2 separate regions of the Homo sapiens genome follow, and region 2 is linked to region 1. Evidence: promoter capture Hi-C in 16 types of primary human blood cells and fetal thymus (Javierre and others, 2016). All regions are on one chromosome and are shown on one strand. Each heading gives the region's core, a stretch centred on a gene start or on the middle of the fragment in contact. The rest is flanking DNA. Distances are from core to core; before and after follow the strand shown. Region 1 holds the start of SLC28A2 (solute carrier family 28 member 2). Region 2 has its middle 19 kb from the start of GATM.

Region 1 (2,801 bases), core at 1-2,500:
CAATCAGAGTGCAGGGAGGGGTCCTAAGTTTTATCCAGAGGGCGTCATAGGAAGCTTTCTTTCTTTCTTTCCAGGCCAGGATAAGTGTTACCAGCTCTGTAAAGTCTTTCTCTCCCTCTTTTTTTTTTTTTTTTTTTTTTTTGAGATGGAGTCTCGCTCACCCAGGCTGGAGTGCAGTGGCATGATCATGGCTCACTGCAACCTCTGCCTCCTGGGTTCAAATGATTCTCCTGCCTCAGCCTCCTGAGTAGCTGAGATTACAAGCCTGCACCACCATGCCCGGATAATTTTTGTATTTTTAGTAGAGATGGAGTTTCGCCATGTTGGCCAGGGTGGTCTCGAGCGCCTGACCTCAAATGATCCGCCTGCCTCTGCCTCCCAGTGTGCTGGGATTACAAGCGTGATTCACCGCGCTCGACCTGCAAAGCCTTTCTTGACACATCCGTCTTTCCTCACTGATCTGTTCGTTTTTTGATGGCAGAGACCTTGTCTCACTCATTTTTATGTCCTCACACGGAAAACGGTGGCTGGCTAATAGTGGTTACTCAATAAGTATTTGTTGAATGGATTAATAAAATAATTCCTAGCAGTCATTTGGCATGGAATCATGTACAGTCGTGCTGTTTATTGTTTTCTAGGGCATGTCTTTCCAGCACAAAATGATGGTAAATTTTCTGGGTGCAGAGACGGCTCTTACTGTATTTTACAGGCTACCCAGTGCCTAGTCCAGTGGTGGGTAATGCTTACAGGAATGTACCTGTTAGAAGTTCTTACAGAATTCTTTTGTTTTGTTTTGTTTTCTGACAGGGTCTCACTCTGTCGCCCAGGCTGGAGTGCAGTGGCGCAATCACAGCTCACTGCAACCTCCACCTCCAGAGGCTCAAGGGATCCTTCCACCTCCGCCTGCCGAGTAACTGGAACCACAGTCGTGTGCCACCGCGCCCAGCTAATTTTTGTATTTGTTGTAGAGATGTGGTTTCGCCATGTTATCCTGGCTGGTCTCAAGCGATCCGCCCGTCTCGGCCTCCCGAAGTGCTGGGATTACGGGCGGGCGCCACCTCTGCATAAGTCTTAGGCCTGCAAAACAGTCTTAAAAACATATAATATTTAACTTGAGAGGTGCAGTCCTCCTCTACATTGAGGGCAGGCTCAGCGAAGGAGGGCCCAAGACATAAAACTAACCAATGGCAGGAAAGCCCCCATGCCCCACCCAAGCTGCCCCTCCTCCCTCGCAGCTGAGCTTTTCTTTCAGTCCTTCACTGAGGAGCCAGAGGGAATCAATTCCACAAGCTGGGGTAAGTAAAGGTGTTTGGGGGAGGGCAGGTGCCTAATTTACAAATTTTTAAAGAGATCATATTTAAACTAAATGCAGGTAGTTTTGTGCCTAGTCAGGAAGGCCCTAATTTACACAATATAAGTTGGTTATGTGTGTTTAATGAAATTATACTTCAAATGCTTGAAGAGATCACATTTTCAAAAGCAATTCCATGGGGAAGGGAATTTTCTGCAAAGTAAATAAATATCTCAGAATGAACTTATATTCTAATTGTGAATGTCCATGTATTAAATTTGCTTATTCTGAGGCCCAAATGTTTGCTTATTTTGTTTAAAAACTTTACTTGGGATCATTAACATTCATACTAATTATTTTAAATGTAAGTTTTGTTAATTTCACTGATGAGTTCTCTCTGGGGCATAAAAAACCAATTCTTATGCTACATTATAGTCAGGAATTTGAAGGCCTGTAAATTGTTATCTGTTCAGCAATACTTTAGGGTCCGGGTCTTCCCAACTGCCTTCCTCCCTGTTTCCTTCTTACTCAGCAAGCTCAGTGGGGCCTCCCTGGGGCTAAAAGGAGTAGTTACCCTGTGACTCTTTCTTTGAGGGTCCAAGTAGGAACCTTTATAGCCCAGATCCTGGGGCCCTGGGCGGCCCACTGATTCATTTCAATTCCACTGCCTTTCATTTCTCTTCTCCTATCTTACTGCCTCTTCTTTAGCTATTCACAAGAGGAAATAGGATTTTATTTTTCATTATTTATTATATAAAAATTACACATCCAATCTTCTCAATTCTCAGTTCTTAAAGAAATCAACTAAGCCTTCAAAGACTTTTAGTTTTGCGTTTTCCATGGGTAACTGGTCCTAAAAATTCTCCCCATCCCCACAGAACAGAATGACCAATCTTTCAGGCTTGGCCCTGAATTTGTTTTTCAGTTGAGGAGAACAGGAGATGGAGAAAGCAAGTGGAAGACAGTCCATTGCTCTGTCCACAGTGGAGACTGGCACAGTGAACCCGGGGCTGGAGCTCATGGTAATCACCAGTTTAGTTTCTCTCTGCAGAGCTGTGGGCTGCTGCATGGGCTCCTGTAGGGTATTTGGCTGCTCTCAATCCCCATCATCCCTGGCAGGGCTCCATGACTGATCCCAATGCTCTCTGTGCTTGTAGGAAAAAGAAGTAGAGCCTGAGGGAAGCAAGAGGACTGACGCACAAGGACACAGCCTGGGGGATGGACTGGGCCCTTCCACTTACCAGAGGTACTGGTGTTTTGGAATCTTGTTCAGTTAGGAAAGGATCTAGGGTGGGCTGCCCCTTCAGGCAGCTTGTGGTATTATCACAACCGCTCCACCTTACCATGTGTACATATATATATGTATCTTACATAATTAATTAACTTAAACATGTGCCATAAACTCCATAAAAAAAAAGGAGTTCAGCAGTATCAGTGTTGGTTGGACTGAAAATAAAAATAATAACAATGGTAATAATGGCTAACAGATTTTGAGTGTATACTTACTATT
Region 2 (2,801 bases), core at 1-2,500, 110 kb after region 1:
CTTTTTTTTTTTCTTTTTTTCTTTTTTGAGCAGGAATGAAAGTTTATTAAAAAGCTTTAGAGCAGGAATGAAAAGAAAGTAAAGTACACTTGGAAGAGGGCCAAGTGGACATCTTGGAGGTCAAGTGCAATCAGGTATCATCCAAACCTAGGCTAGAGGTTTTCTGGGCTACCTGAAAAATTTGAATGGCAGCTGGATAGCGGACCACAAGGGCCGGTTTACTTCCACTTCACCTCTAGTTCCTGGGTACAGTCAGTGCCGTGTCAAGCCACATTGGAACCTGAGGCAAAAGAAACATCAGTAATACTGATCTTGTCTTCATTTAACATTTTGATATTTTGTTCATCATGGATTTTTTCATTAATTTTGATGCTTAAAAAATACTGCATTATTATTATCTGGATTACCGAGGTTTTTTTGGTCCCCCTAAATTTTGTGGACATGGTGAGTACTTCACTGGCCTCACACTACTTCCAGCCTTGGTATCTGCCTTGGGATTTGTACACCCTGGGCAGTTTGAAGAGAGCAGTTGTGGGTCCCTCCAACTTCCTATAAAATCCCATGAAGGTCTCCTCCTTTATGATACCATTTATAATTAACTATAAGACTTCCACAGGATTAGGGGCCAAAACATCACATTTAGTAGGCTTATCAGATTACTTTTCATCCTCAAAGTAATGGGTTAATAGAAAATTGGAAGGAATAAAACCACGTGCTCATGCCTGTAAATCCCAGCACTTTGGGAGGCTGGGGCGGGTAGACCACATGAGGTAAAATTAATATTTTAGAAGCTAATAAAACTTATAATATTGATATTAACAATCAAATATATTGGGATATTGAACTAAATTCCCTTCAGCATATTATCCCTATGGAGCAGGATTGGCCTGAAGCATATTTTGACTTCAGCAACAATAATTATAGTTTGTAATCACTCAACAGATACATACTACACACTGCTACAGATCAGGTAGGCAAATGAATTGTTGTAAAGTTAGTTCAAATATATGAGAAAGCTTATGATAGAATTTTTGGTTGGTTGAGCTATCTGTATAAGTCCAAACCAACTGGTTATTAAAAATGTGTGGAATCTGTATGTACATTTTGATTATCTATTTGATTATATGATATTGCAAAGCAAGTGGTAGCTCTCAAACTAGGAGTGATCATTTTGTCATGATAAGGCCTTGATCACGGATCAGGGATGTAGACCGCACTGTGGATTGTTTTGAGCATGACTATTTTCTGAGGGGGAAAGCTCCCTCCCACACACACAGAGCGGTGGTGGTGCTGGAGTTACAAGAAAGATGATAATTGATGTAGCAAATTCTGAAAAAAGAGAAAGATTAGGATCAAAGGACGGTTGTGTGGATTAGAGTTGGTGAGAAGTTTCACCTCTTTTTCTGTAGCAGCGAGAGAAGACCCTTTATACATGGTTGAGAAGCAAATGCATGCAATGAGATGAAGGCCTGATTTTTTTCTCTGGAAGCTTAGGTAGCACAGTAGTCCCTTCATCCAAAGTTTCACTTTCAGCAGTTTCAGTTACCAGTGGTCAACCATGGTCCAAAAATATTAAATAGAAAAATGCAGAAATAAATAATTCGTAAGTTTTAAATTGCACGCTGTTCTGAGCTGCGTGATGAAATCTTGCACTGGCCCACTCCACTCCCTCCACCTGGGACATGAATCCTCCCGCTTCCAGCGTATCACACTGTATATACCACCCGCCCTTCAGTCATTTAGTAGCCACCTCGTTATCAGACCACAGTCCTTGTATTCAAGTAACCTTATTTTACTTAATAATGACTCAAGTGCAAGTCTTAATGCTGGCAATTCGGACATACCAAAGTAAAGCCTAAGTGGCTTTCTTTAAGGGAAAGGTGGAAGTTCTCAACAAGAAAAGAAAAAGTTGTATGTTGAGGTTGCTGAGATCCATGGTAAGAACGAATCTCCTATCTGTGAAGTTGTGATAAAGGAAAAAGAAATGCATGCTAGTTTTGCTGTCGCACTACACATGGCAAAAGTTATGGTCACAGAGCATTGATAAGTGCTTAGTTAAGGTGGAAAAGGCATTACATTTTTGTTTGCAAGACATGAAGAGAAAACATGTTCCCGACTGACAGCCATGTGTTGCACCAGATTAACTTCATTAAACTTTATCATAGGTCTGCATGTATAAGAAAAGGCATAGTATATATAGGGTTTGGTACTACCCATAGTTTCAGGCATTCACCGGGGGTCTTGGAACATATTCCCTGAGGATAAGGGAGAACTACTTACTGTAAAGGAAAGGAGAAAGAAACTTAACCAGAATATGCAAATGTGTATAAATCTATAGGGGATCGTAAACTGAAGGAACTAATGCCTGATGGTCTCTCTCTCCTTTGTGAAAAATGAAACAATATGATCAGCTAAGAAAATGTAGTGAAGGTTTGGAATAGCTACTGAGGAGGACGCAAAGAACTGTGCAGCAGAATTGTTGGGTAGTATTTAGGCCTGCAAATATATACCCTAATGTGCACCAATCCAAACAACTGGATAGATTTCTCAAGCAGAATTCAGTCCACGTGTAGGACTAACAGGTGTTTCTGTAATGGATGTAAAAGGAACACCAGGATGCAAAGGAGTTCAAGGCGTTAGTAAGGGTACAGTTGAAACCTGTGATTCATTTCAAAGTACACATTCTATGCAGATTTTTCAAGAAAAAAACATGCAGCAACTTAAGAACAGAGACTCTTCCCTTCCGGGGCCTAGGATTACTCCTTATACTCAGAAGATATTCAGATATTTTTGAATGAGTG

The links. Contacts are between HindIII fragments. The CHiCAGO score rates a contact against its expected background, and 5 or more counts as called.
Region 2: a contact is called between a fragment that was not itself captured here and the fragment with the promoter of SLC28A2 in region 1, in 1 of 17 cell types (fetal thymus). The highest score is 5.3, in fetal thymus.

What each region holds. Positions count from the first base shown.
Region 1 is chr15:45,250,984-45,253,784 of GRCh38, forward strand. It overlaps SLC28A2 (solute carrier family 28 member 2), which reads left to right and starts at 1,251. Exons shown (of 18, transcript NM_004212.4): 1 at 1,251-1,295; 2 at 2,217-2,313; 3 at 2,449-2,537. The coding sequence starts at 2,233. SLC28A2-AS1 (SLC28A2 antisense RNA 1) reads right to left here. Exons shown (of 5, transcript NR_120335.1): 5 at 598-1,089. The HindIII fragment of the contact is 6,298 bases long and covers 53-2,801 here.
Region 2 is chr15:45,358,162-45,360,962 of GRCh38, forward strand. No RefSeq gene overlaps it. Among named protein-coding and RNA genes, the nearest start is that of GATM, 19 kb to the right of the region's middle. The HindIII fragment of the contact is 473 bases long and covers 1,015-1,487 here.